Regions from separate parts of the Homo sapiens genome. Here region 2 is linked to region 1. Evidence: promoter capture Hi-C in 16 types of primary human blood cells and fetal thymus (Javierre and others, 2016). All regions are on one chromosome and are shown on one strand. The core of a region is centred on a gene start or on the middle of the fragment in contact, and the rest is flanking DNA. Distances in the headings are between cores, read along the strand shown.

Evidence for each region. The method cuts DNA at HindIII sites, captures the fragments that hold promoters and counts their contacts. A CHiCAGO score of 5 or more calls a contact.
Region 2: a contact is called between a fragment that was not itself captured here and the fragment with the promoter of ZNF35 in region 1, in 1 of 17 cell types (monocytes). The highest score is 5.4, in monocytes.

The regions. Positions count from the first base shown.
Region 1 is chr3:44,644,675-44,651,502 of GRCh38, reverse strand. ZNF35 (zinc finger protein 35) reads right to left here and starts at 2,771. Exons shown (of 4, transcript NM_003420.4): 1 at 2,669-2,771; 2 at 244-562. The coding sequence starts at 435. ZNF660-ZNF197 (ZNF660-ZNF197 readthrough) reads right to left here. Exons shown (of 8, transcript NR_147692.2): 8 at 3,032-6,828. It overlaps ZNF197 (zinc finger protein 197), which reads right to left. Exons shown (of 6, transcript NM_006991.5): 6 at 3,032-6,828. The region is part of intron 2 of ZKSCAN7-AS1 (ZKSCAN7 ZNF cluster antisense RNA 1); the gene reads left to right. RefSeq lists enhancers at 2,289-2,398, 2,479-2,648, 2,527-3,086. The HindIII fragment of the contact is 4,515 bases long and covers 521-5,035 here.
Region 2 is chr3:44,726,941-44,733,768 of GRCh38, reverse strand. ZNF501 (zinc finger protein 501) reads right to left here and starts at 4,134. Exons shown (of 3, transcript NM_001258280.2): 1 at 3,754-4,134; 2 at 2,209-2,293. LOC105377056 (a long non-coding RNA gene) reads left to right here and starts at 4,243. Exons shown (of 3, transcript XR_940788.4): 1 at 4,243-4,977. RefSeq lists an enhancer at 4,254-4,323. The HindIII fragment of the contact is 464 bases long and covers 2,820-3,283 here.

The sequences.
Region 1 (6,828 bases), core at 1,522-4,021:
AGATTTTATAAAAAGCTCTCCAGGTTCTGTGTAGCAAAATTTGAGAACCACTGGTTTACAGAAAGTACTGAATGTCACATCAATCAGAAGGGAATGTTTCTATCCTATTACAAAAGACTGGAAGCTAGAATTGTACCCAAGAAATAAGACTCCAGGTGTGGAAGCAGAGGGGCAGAGTCCCCTCTTAAACTACTTGAGGTCTTCAAGTATCTCCTCCCCTCTTCCTCTCAGGCCCCCGTTTACCTTTTCTTCCTCTTCTGATCCATCAAGGCCTGTCTGAAGACCCTGCACTGGGGCCCAGACTTTGATGTTCTCGGAGTGCACTTGTTGGCTGGATGCCTGACCTGGGAAGTTTTCTTCTTCTTCCTCCTCCTTTTTCACCTTCACTGGGCCCCATGGGGCTAGGGCCATGGCTTCTCTCAATTCTGCAGTCATCTTCTCTGCTCAGCAGGGGAACTCCTATAGCTGGGCGCTGCCCTGCAGAGGTCAAACCCCATCCAAGCTTTATGTTTCAAAAGCTTCTTCTTGAGTTTCTTCCCAGGGCCAAGATGAGTACTGCCTACTGAGAAATCAGAAAACACTGTTAGCACCAAGGAGAGATTTGCTGGATGCCACTTAGCAAATTTGCCGGATGCCACACCGGCAAATTTCACCAGCGCCTGGCCAGGGGCCAATGTAGGACATGGAATCCTCTATTCCTCCCTCATAGGATGAAGGGGTTGGACTATAAATATGTAATATCTTCCCATAATAACCACATTGCAAACAGCTTTATATAATGTTTATTGATTTTTTCCTGATTAAAAGTTAACTTACTTTTATTGTAAAAACTTAAAAGCAGCAAATGATTAAGAAAAATCATCTCGGTCTACCTCCAAAGAGATAACCACTATACATTTTAAGATTTAAGATATTTCTTTCAAAGGAAAATCTCCAACCATACTACTAATAATTATGATTTTACAAATTCTTGTTTTTGACTTTGGGGATACATATTTTCACAATTATCATCATAGCATTTTTTAAAAAAGGATTTTACAACAAAAAGATTTTTTATTGCCAAGGATACAAAATAATGTGAACAAAAGGATCCCAAGAAAAAGACTGGGAGTCTTTATACCAACGTGTTAGCAGTGGGTAGTTAACTCTGGATGGTGTAATTACAGGTAGTTTTAAGGTTCTTTTCATTTTTTTTGTTTGATTTTTACATTTTCCATAGCTTCCAAATGTCCTGTGAGATAAAATATTACACTTAAGATTTAAAAAAAGATTACTTTCATGTTGCCATTCTTCATGCTTATTTTAAATGCTACACAATAACCTATGGTGTTGATAAATCTTCACTCTCATTGAAAAAGGATCAAGTAATACAGAAATATATAGAATTAAATATATAACCTACACACACTACACACACACACACACACACACACAAAGTACTTATCAGTTTAGATGGGAGTCCTAACCCATTTTCTCTGCATTTACATACTTATATGTTCACCTTCACACATATTGCTTATTTTTCAAAAACATACTTTAGATCATCACAGTTATATACTGTTCAGCAACCTGCATTGTTTTTTAACTCAATTTCCGTATTTCACAATAGTCTTAACAATCTTTCAATACAACACATATAGAACTACCTCATTCTGGCATAGTATTCTAAATTGTGGCTATATTATCATTTACTTAATCATATTCTATTTATGAACCATTTATTTAGTAAAAGTTTATATTTCCATTTTATTAATATTTAAAAGTTTTTCTTTGTAAATATTTTTTTTTTGCTGAATTATTCCTTTAGAATAATCAGAGAATTACTGGTTCAAGGATTTGCTGGTTGATATGTACTGTCAAATTGCTTTCCAAAAGCACCATGCCAATTCACACCCCCACTAATTGACAGTAACCCTTTATCACAGCTAAGCCAGCAGGGTTTTTGTTTTTAACCTGTGAGCAAAATAACCTTACTAGTTTGATTGCTTATGAAGAGATTGAAATTTTTCTTTCTAACCCCCTTTGAATGTTTTATTGGAAAAGGGTGCGAAATCTTATTCAATCCCCTGTTGCTGCTATTGAAGTGATCATACTCTTTTCCCCATGTCAACTTACTGGCCACTTACTGTATACACTGAATTTATTAAGTAATGCAATACTTTCATTCCTGTGACAAACCTTAATTCTGGAGGACTATTCTTTCCATCACTATCCGAATTCAATCTGGTATGAAGGTCCTTAAGACTAGTTCCACCTTGTGTATAAGACTGCCTACAGTGAGTACTCTCATCAGACTTCTGATCAGATTCTGACGGACCTCCGGTCCCAGACGGCACAGGGCCCTCTATCAAAGGCTCCCTTTCAACGTCCTTTCTCTATTTCCAAACGTGGCAATCCATTCTTTCCACGTATAGGCTCCTCGCGGCCCTGTCCCTGGGACCTATCTGGCCCCTTGGCCGGTCCGTGTGCATCCTCTCCCGGACCAGGCCCCAGGTGGGCAGCAGCCGGGATTCCGAGGCGGTGGGGAACTCACTGCCCCCCGCACCCCGACAGACAAGGCTGGTGTCCCCGGGGAAAGGACGCAGGGGCCGCTCCTAGGGCCATGGCCCCTGGGAGAGCCCCTTTTTCTCCCTCGACGTTCGTGCCCACCCCCTCCGACCCCACTCACTGTGCGCAGCTGAGAAGCCCGACCTGAGTTCACTGGCTCTGCAGCAGGAGGCTGGCTGACCGGTACTTCAGCTTCTACCGGCACGAGAACAATGACCGGACAGGAAGTGCCTCGGGATGGGCTTCCGGCTCCCCAAGTCGCCAAGCCGGCCTCTCTAGGAACCTCGGAGGTGCTTTCCTCTCGATGGGTGTCCAATGTCGCCCCAGACCAGGGATGGGGCAGAAGCGCTTAGGAGGATTGTGCTGTTGGAAGCTCTAAGTGAGCCTCAGGGAGGGGCGCATCCCAAGCAGGGATGAGACACTCAGGCGAGGCGCGCACCCAAGAGCCTGAAGCTACACAGCATTAATCTGTAGAAAGCCCTGATAATTTCCCCTCAAATGTTTTATTTTGAAAATATCAGAGTACAGAAGAGTTGAAAGTATGGCACATTGAATACCCGTATTTTCCATGTGGACTCAACAATGAACATTTTGCTATGTTTGCCTGATCTCTCAATACATATTTAAAATCATTTTTTTGAAAGTTGTAAACATCAGAACACTTCATTCCAAATACTTCAACATGCATCCCTTAAGATTAAGAATATTCTTCAAACTACCACCACCGTCACAGGTAAGAAAATCAACAAAAATTCCCTAATACCATCTAATAACCAGTCATATTCAAATTTCCCAACTGTCCTAAAACATGTATTTTATAACTTTTTTTCAAATCAGTTTCACACACTTTAGTTGGTTACAGCTCTTTAGTTTTGGGTTTTCGTTGCCATTGTTGGTTTTTACTTTTTATTTTGAAATGATAGAATCACAGGAAGTTGCAAAGATAGCACCCTTCACCCACTTTCCCCTCATGGTTACATCTTACATAAAATGAAAAAGGAAATCAACATTGGTACAGTATGTGTGTATAGGTATAGCACCTATAGATTTGTGTAACCACCACTGCAATCAAGATACACAAGTGTTCCATCACCACAAAGACCTTTCTGGTGCTACCTTTTAATAGTTCCATCCAACCCTCTCCCCATTTTTCCTCCCACCATCCCTAACCTTTGGCAACCATTAATCCATTTTTCATCTCTATAGTTTTATCATTTTGAGAATGTTATATGAATATTTTCATACAGAATATGGCCTTTTGTGATTATTTTCACTCAGCATTAATTCCCTTGAAATTTATTTGAGTTGTTATGGATATCAATAAGTCAATTTTATTGCAGAGTAACAAGTATTCCATGGTAATACATAAACCACAATTTGTTTTAACCACCTAAGGAAGGATATATGGGTTGCCTACAGGTTTCGACCATTACAAATAAAGCTGCTATGAACATTCGTATACAGGTTTTTGTGTGAACGCAAGTTTTCATTTCTCTGGGATAAATGCTCAGAAGTGCAATTCCTGAAGCATGACATATACATGTGTGGTTTTACAAGAAACTGCCAAATTATATTCCAGAGTGGCTGTACCATTTTACATTCCCAGCAATGTATGAGATCCTGTTTCTCTTCATCCTTGCCAGCAGTTACCACCATTAAAAAAAAAAAGTTAAGCTATTCTGATAGGTGATATCTCACGATTTTACTCTGCATTTCCCTCATGCCTAATGATGTTGAACATCTTTTCATTTGCTTATTTGCTATCTATACTTCAGTGAAATGTCTGTCTTTTGCTTATTTTCTAATTGTATTTACTTATTACTGTTAAATTTGGAAAGTTCTTTATGTAGTTTACATACAAATCCCTTGTTGGATATGATTTGCAAATATTTTTTCCCAACCTGTAATATCATCTTTGTAAAAAGGTCTCTTACAGGGTAAATTATCTTAATTTTGATGAAGTCCAATTTAACATTTTTTTTCCTTCTAAGGAGCATGCTTTTGAGTCATCTGAGCCTTCTTAGCTCAGTCCTAGGTCCTGAAGTTGTTGGTTTACTGCCTATGGATATCCAATTACTCCAACAGTATTTGCTGAAAAGGCGATCCCTCCTCCATTGAATTGCTTTTGCCCCTGTCAAAAATCAATTGGCCATTTATGTGAGTCTATTTCTGGTTCTTAGTACCTAACGGCTCTCTAGTATTATCTTTTAAAAACAAGCCTCCTCATCCATGTTTTATACCTTTCATATCGAAATTTTCATACATACACAAAAGCAGAGAATGGTATAATAAACTCACAGCAGACTCAAGACAGCTTGAACAATTTTCACTCCCCTCTCTTTTTCATCATAATAATATTTTGAAGAATCCAGGGCAGCTTTCTTATGCAATATTCCACGTTCTGGATGTGTCTGTTTCTCGTGGTGTCTTTTATTTGTTCCTCTGCCTCCTGTATTTCCTGTAACCTGGCAATGAGGTCCAAGAAGCTTGATTAAATTCAGGTTGAACATTTTTCAGCTTATTACATCACAGAAGGTGGCACATTATGTGGGCTGTCTCAATCTAAGCAATGTGACATTTTGTTACTCGGTGAAGAGGTAAATCACAGCATTCTCCATTGTTAAAGTACATATGTCCTTTGTAATTATTATATAAGCTGGGATGATTCAACAACCTGGATGAAACATTTTTATATTCATTATCTCATAAGAACTTTGTGAGGTAGATATTCTTCCTCCTGTTTAACAGATGAGGAATTCAAGGCTCCAAGAACTGAAGAGATTTTTTCTGAGGCAGATGGCAAAACCTGAACCACATCCAGGTCTTAAGACTTTAAGCCTTAGGCCCCTTCCAGTTTTCACTCTTGGCTACCTTTCACTCTAATGAGGAACCAGCCCCCAAGAAACTGTGGGGTTGAATTAATAACATTTATGATAATCAACACACCACTTTGACATTATTAAAAAACACAATCTTCATATTCAGGTATTATTCATAGTCCAGCTACAGAAACAGAACTTTGAGAATTACAACATAAAAATTACCAACTTAAGAATATAGACTGAGTTAAACCCACAAATGTACTCAAGGGCACAGAATGGTTCACAGGGGGTAATGGGCACTGACTGCCCACAAGTGGATTCTGCACTGGCTTAATCAGTGAAGAGCTTGGCTCCATGTGAAAAATTTATGTCCCAGTAAATTTAGTGCTGGGACAGAATGTTGTTTCATTAGTAACAGGCTATCATTTGACAGCAATGATGAAATATTGATTAGAATTCACAATGACTGTGGCAGGGATCATCAGCTCAACTGCGGGTCAAGGATTTTTTTCCCTCTGAATAGGGAAAGCAGGGTACCACTGCCCTTCCATTTTGACACTCTCCATCTGTTAAGTTTCAAATTCAAAAGCTGGGAAATAAATTGTTTTCCTTGGCATCACTGTTAATGGCTGGCCATAACATTTTTTTCCATATACATAAACTAGATATATAATCTAGTAACTCCCTCAGATATTTTTAAAGGTAAATTTAACAAAATTATTCTTAGAACACTAAATTCCAGTTAGCTATTCACCATACTTCCTCTTATGAAAATGAGTATCTTTTAGGTTCCTGGAATCCCCCTCATTCTAATATTGACTTAATACACAAACTTACATGATCCCATGTTCTAAACTTTTACCATAACCTCTTTTATCCAACTTTATTGACAACTGAATGATTTCAAAAAGTACTTTCACAAAGATCCTTTCACTTAACCCTCACAACAACCCTGTGAGGTAGGTATCATGTCAACATTTGACTGACAGGAAACTAAAGCTTTAGAGGCTGACTTAATAACATCACATGGCCATTAAGGGAAAGCCAGGAATCAAAGGTAGGTCTTCTGATTCCAAATCCAGTGCTCTTTTAGGTTGTCCTCATCAGCAGACTCTTGTCCGCCCAACTCCACACCTGACATTCTGGATCATACTGTCTGTTCAGGTTTTCCACAGCAGTGACACTATCTTTAAAATGCATACTATACACATTTTAAAAAACAATGTCCACTTTTTATTATTAAATTTTTAGTTTTATTAATAAATTTATTTTTATTTACTAAAGACGGGTCTCCCCGTGTTACCCAGGCTTGTCTCGAACTCCTGGGCTCAAGGGATCTTCCCACCTCGGCCTCCCAAAGTCCTGGGACTACAGGAGTGAGCCACTGCACCCAGCCCATGTCTACTTTTTATTGTTGCTCTCATTTACAACTATGTTATTAGATTTGGATTATGTTTTT
Region 2 (6,828 bases), core at 1,802-4,301, 82 kb before region 1:
ATAATTCTCTCCCTAGGCCCAACTGGAAACCTATAGGTTTGAAAACTAGAGTCCTGCTTACTGAAAGAAAGTAAGATATCACTGTTTTGTTTCAGGAAAATTAGAGAAGTGGTCCTTAAAGAAGAAGGTTTAATTGGACAGTAACTTGACTACAGCATCATGGTCCAGGTGCTGGCCCTCACCTTTGTAGCCAAAGAAATCTGAAATATACTAATCAGATTTATAAGGGGAATGAGAGAGAAAATAAAGTCACTTCATTTATTTACAATGAAAAACTTCTGTGCTTAATATAGAGCTGGTTAACATATTCTCTGGACTTTAGAAAAACAGTATGTGAACCAAATCACTGTCATTAGAGCACTCTTTGGGAAACAAAGAACTGGAGAAAGAACAAAATATTTAATTGATCATAACTAAATGATTATCAAATTTTGAAACCCTGGTGCCCTAAATAAGCCACACAGAATTAAAGAATGAATATTCAGGTGCTGCACGTCAGAGCAATCTCTTCCCTAGTTGGTGCTGGAGACACTAACACATGCTTCTTCTCTGAGGCCCATTTTTGTCTGTTTTCTAATCATGTAAATTACACAACTATATATCCTCACTTTAAAATATTTAGATAATATGGAAGTATATAAGATAGGCCAGGCATGGTGGCTCGCACCTATAATCTCAACACTTTGAGAGGCTGAGGCAGGAGGATCACTTGAGGCCAGGAGTTTTAAGAGCAGCCTAGGCAACATAGTGAGATGCTGTCTCTACAAAAAATAAAAAATTAGCTGGGTGTGGTCATGTGCACCTGTAGTCCCAGCTACTCAGTAGGCTGAGGTGGGAAAATCACTTGAGCCCAGGATGTTGAGGCTGGAGTATGCCATGATCATGCCACTGCACTCCAGCCTAGTATACAGAGCAAGACCCCTTCTCTAAAAGAAAATTTTTGTTAACAAAATAAACCTATTCCTTTCCCCAGAGATTATCAAGTTTGAAGTATCTTCCTTCATTCCTTTTTTCTTCACATTTTTCTATACACATATATCACTTGATTCTCTTTAAATAAATGAAATTGTTCTACAGGTTCTGCTCTGCAATTTGCTTTTATTTCCCACTAAAAAATGTGTCTTAGAGATCACTTCATGTTGGTACATATGGATCTATTGGGGCTGAGAGTCAAATGATACACACTGCTATATCTGTACAAATTGTTCACGACTACCTGCTTGGGCAATGCCTGTACCATACTGTTTGTTAAATATGTGGACTATCTTACCTAAACCTATCTTTATCTGATGTATTAACTTACAACATGGATATGCTATATACAAAAACAAACTCCAGTTGGTTTAAGCAACCAGATGTAAAACCAAAACTCTAAGCACATTTTTAATTCCTTTACTCTCATTTTTCCAAAATAAAAAGGTTTTTTTCTTATCATACAAAGAATGCATGCTCATTCTATTAAATGGTCAGCTACTCCGAAGAGGAAATCACTTGAAACCCAGCCACAGAAAATAATAGTATTTTAATGGACCTTCTTCTAGGTATCTCTTGATGCATATAAACATAAATACGTACATAAGTGTACATATATTATGCATACATATTAAACTAATCCAAATTCTTCAGGACACAGTCATATTCTCTTCACAGAGTTCCCATAACCTAAGAATACAATTTACCCAGAATTATTTTACTGAGTTTGACAGACACCCAGGCTCCATGTTGCCTTTTGATTGCCAGTGACAATGTCAGCTGCAATAACTTAAGCTCTTGTTCTAAACATGGCCAGAAGCCCATTCCATATTCTCTGAGGAAATACCTAATCACATTTGCAATGGGTTTTCCAATAATTTACTACCCATATTCCTTGATCCAACCACTACACCATTAAGGCATCATACTGAGCAGTTCAATAAGTGGTTTAAAGATGTGCTACCAGATGACTGTAGAGTCTTCAGTTCAGGTACTCTGATAAGAACTTAGTGCACTCTAGGACCTGTCCCATAACCAATTATTCCATAGCCGTTTTCACAGTGGGCCACCCTCACTGATTTGAGTAAAATGGTATCCATTTCTGTGTGGTCCTGCATTTTCTGCTGGGTCCACATTTAGTGGACATTGGTGGGTCCCACCATAGGTCTGCCATCACTTCTGATGGTAGTCTCACAACCACCACCATCCTGGGCTCTCTAGTTAGAGTTAACTTACCAAGAGACAGGTTGTTAGGAGCACAAGCAATACTGGCTTTTCTCCTGGGGGCTCTTCTCTTGAGGAAAGGCAGGAATTTGAGGCACTGAGGGAGGAAAAAGAGCCACTCATAAATTGCCAGCCTACTTCCTACACCTTCTAGATTCAGGGTAACTCAAGAACATCCCATCTCTAACCAAATGACCATTTTAAGTTCAAATGAAAGAATATCGTTATTATCCTAGAGGAGTATCTCCAGTGACAAAAATTAGTGAGTTGGCAGACTTCAGAGAGATGTGACAATGTACAAAGAGGGCAGGTCCTTCCTAGGACTAAGCATCTGGGCGTAAAAATTTCTTTATACGACATCAGGTTGGAGCCCAATGGCTCCCCTAAGTCTACTGGAAAAGCCATTGATTTCAAAAGTCAAATGCTGCAGGGCTACAATAGAGGGCAGTAGGACCAGTAATGGACTCAGTCAAGAGGTGTGGATTCTAGTCTCAGCTCTGCCACCAATTTGTTCAATGACCTAACACAGGTCACTCAGTCTCATCCATTTCTTATTTGTTAAATGAAATTGAAAAGCTAGATAATATTTAAAGCTTCTTGTAATATCAACATTCTACAAAGCTTTGATTCTATATACAGATGGGAAAAGAGCAAAAACCTCAAATCAAGCCCTTCCAGTCCATCTTTGATTGAATCTGTTTATTCATTTATTTGAAAAGTACTAAATGAGCTAGCCGTGAGGTGAATGGGTCTTGTTAAGAACGGGCTGAATCAACAGCAGGGAAACTTCCTGTCAGTTATCCTCCTACAATTAGAATTGGGGGAATTTCTCGAAAATAACAAGAGGATTGCCTTTGTGTAAGGAGTATCTGCTGTAAGATGTTAAGGACTCTTCATAAGGGAAAGGTTTCAAGAACCCTCCTAATGCAAAGAACACTGTATTCAAAGGCAGGAACCTGGTTTCCTGTCTAATACATCCCAATCCACTAGCATCTCTTAACTGACACTGAACAAACTGTTTAATTATTTTCAAACGTCTCTTTTATTTCCTCATTTGGTCAAATAAGCCAGCAATTATTTTCAAGCTTGCAGTCAACCTTTAATATTTAGCTCAAATGTGAAACTTCACACCTCTTCCTTGTGGGAAAATTTTGACTTTTCCAAGGCCCTTCCTCGTCTACATTCTCAAAGAATTTTACAAGTTTCTACTGTAGGACTTTCTAGTCTGATTACATTCTGTCTTCCACCAGCAAACTTACAAGTATGGCATGGGCTCCAGGACTAGGACTTTTGAACAAGTTACCTAACCTTTTTTTGCTCCAGTTTTTTCAACTGTTAAATGGAGACGATACCAGTAACTACTTTATAGGGTTGTCGTAATGAATAAGTGGGTTACTACATGGCAACTACTTAGAAGAATGCCAGCTGGTAAGCATTCAATAAATAGTGCCTGCTGTTAAAGTATTGAGTCTACATGTCTTCATACGGTACCTATTTTGTTGTTGTTAGAGAAGAATAAATAATGAAGGGAAGGCACTAATTCTTGCATATACTTACTTCAACCCGCACAACTTTGGGAAACGGCAAGGCAGGAAACAGTATTTACTTCTGGAAATCAGAAAACTAAAGTGCCCAGAAGTTCACTGACATGCTTAAGTATGTATAAATCGAACCCAGGTCCTCCGACTCCCAGCCTAGGGCTCTCGAACAGCCTCTCCTTTCTTCATGGCAAGTTTGCCCTAGGCCTCGGGCCTCCGCTCCACAGGCCCTCCAGGAAGAAAAACGCCCTGCTTCCCGAGGGAGGAGCTGGAATCGACCCGCGGCAGCCGGGCACAGCAGAAACCGCTCACCATGCGCTTCCCGCGGCGCTCCCCGCGGCGCTCCCCTCTCGCACCTTGCAACACTCAGGTCCCTGGGTGCTGCCCTGCGGAAAGGAGTAAGTCCCGGACGCGCCCAGCCGGCGTGACGTCAGCAGTCCGCGCCTCGGCTAATAACCACTACCGTCTCCTCTCTAGGAAGGTGGGAGCGGCTTCCGCTCGGTGGTTCCTTCCCGCACGCAGCTACGGGTTTCGGTGCTGCGCCGGTTAAGCCGGCACCAGAAACAACCTGCGACCCCACCTGGCGTGCGTCTTCCAGCACAGGGAAACGGGATGGAAGTCAGAAGGGTCGACCACAAGGAGCTCTTACTGTGCATCAGTTCATCCTGCAAGTCCGCCACATTTAGCTTCCTATGTTACTGTCCTTTGGGGATTCTCAAGGCTTTTCACAAAACTGGCTTCCACCTTCCTCACACACATCCTCATCTGGAAGAAAACTGACCTCTTCACAGAAACCCCTGACACCTTACTGACCCAGGATCTTTGTTCAGGTGGCCAAAAGAAAAAGTTCTGCAGGCCAGGCGCGGTGGCTCACTCCTGTAATCCCAGCACTTTGGGAGGCCGAGGCGGGCGGATCACCTGAGGTCAGGAGTTCAAGACCAGCCTGCCCAACATGGAGAAACCCTGTCTCTACTAAAAATACAAAAATCAGCCGGGTGTGCTGGTGGGCGCCTGTAATTCCAGCTACTCCGGAGGCTGAGGCGCGAGAATCACTTGAACCTGGGAGGGGGAGGTTGCAGTGAGCAGAGACTGAGCCACTGCACTCCAGCTTGGGTGATAGAGTGAGACTCTGTCTCAAAAACAAAACAAAACAAATCAAACACTGCTTTGGGCTCAAATCCCTGATTCTCAGTGTATGAACTTTGCAACTTTACCTCTCTGTGCCTGCTTCCTCACTTACCAGGTATAATAATGGTACCACAGGGTTGTTGTGAGGATTAAGTGAGGTTAATACGTGTGAATTACTAAGAACATCTAGTATTTTTTAAATCTTCAGTAAATGTTAGGACTATTGTCTGTGTCTCAAATCCCAGCTCCAGTACCTATTGTTCTGCCCTGACTTCACTGACCTTTCAGGGCCTCAAGGTAGCACACCCATCCCTTTCTACAAAACTTCAGATCTTGCTGGCTCTAACTCAGGAAATATTTGCACACATGGGCTCATCTTGACAGGTAAAGTCCAGAGATAAAGGCATGAGTGGAGAGTACCTTATTCACTTCCAAGCATTCCTACTGATCTGCAATCTCAGGACAATAGGGCTGTGTGCACACCATCATATCCCTAGTGTGCAGCATATAGAAGTGAACACTTGCTGTATAAATTAATGAGATGCAGCAGAGAAATTATCCATTCCAGGCCAGGCATGGTGGCTCACACCTGTAATCCCAGCACTTTGGGAGGCCATGGGGGGCGGATCACGAGGTCAGGAGTTTGAGACCAGCCTGACCAACATGGCGAAACCCCGTCTCTACTAAAGATACAAAAATTAGCCGGGCGTGGTGGTGTGCCCCTGTAATCCCAGCTACTCAGGAGGGTGAGGCAGGAGAATCACTTGAACCTGGGAGGCGGACTTGCAGTGAGCCGAGATCATGCCACTGCACTCCAGCCTGGGTGACAGAGCCAGACTCCATCTTAAAAAAAAAAAAAAATATCCATTCCAATCTTCAGATTGGCTGTTTTCCCAAAATGGAGTCCCTTTTGGACACAAATCAGGAATGCTGGTGCCACAGACTGAGGCCATCGCTATCTTTGGCTAAAAAGTGACCCTTTGTAAAATTGTCAGTTGACATGCCATGTAACAATAATGTTAAGTTTCCCTCTCCAGGTGTCACATTCTCAGCACTTCTTTGGAATCAGATAGCAAGTTCTTCCCTCCAGCCCTAACATCTCACAGGCCAGAGACCCTAGGTCTAATTATTCATTCCCCAAACATTAGGCTTCAAAGAGTCTCCAAATCAGCAGGGTGTAGTGTGTGGAGGACATTAAGTCTGGAGGGAGGCACCTGAGGTTACTAGAAACCGTAATCTGGAGTTTAATAGCAGTTTGGGCTGAGCTTCTTTCAATGAGGTGGAAAACGGATGGTAGGGATGGACACCAAAAACGTTCCAAAACACTAAAATAACCTTAGCCCTGATGTGGCCACTGGATAAATGAAACTAATGCCACATATCGTCAAGATTAGGTTTCTACCTTATGTAGAAAGTAGGGGTCAAAAGGTATCATCAACTTACTTGTCACCCTCACACTCAGGAAAGTCTGAGATTTTGAGAACAAAAAGCTTCTCAATCTTATACAAGTGAGCTCCTCACATCCTCAGGATAAGGAAAAGATTGGAGCACTAAGTGGTCAATTCTAGGCTGGATGCAGTGGCTCAGGCCTGTAAGGGAGTCCGAGTTAGGAGGATCATCTGAGGGCAGGAGTTAGAGATGAGCCTGGGTAACATAGCAAGAATCTGTCTGTACCAAAAAATAATATTAAAAAACTTTTTTTTGAGACAGACTCTCACTCTGTCACCCAGGCTGGAGTGCAGTGGCATGATCTTGGCTCACTGCAACCTCTGCCTCCTGGGTTCAAGCAATTCTCCTGCCTCAGTCTCCTTAGTAGCTGGGATTACAGGCACGCGCCACCATGCCTGGCTAATTTTCATATTTTTAGTAGAGACGGGGTTTCACCATGTTGGTCAGGCTGGTCTCAAACTCCTGACCTTGTGATCCGCCTGCCTTGGCCTCCCAAAGTGCTGGGATTACAGGCGTG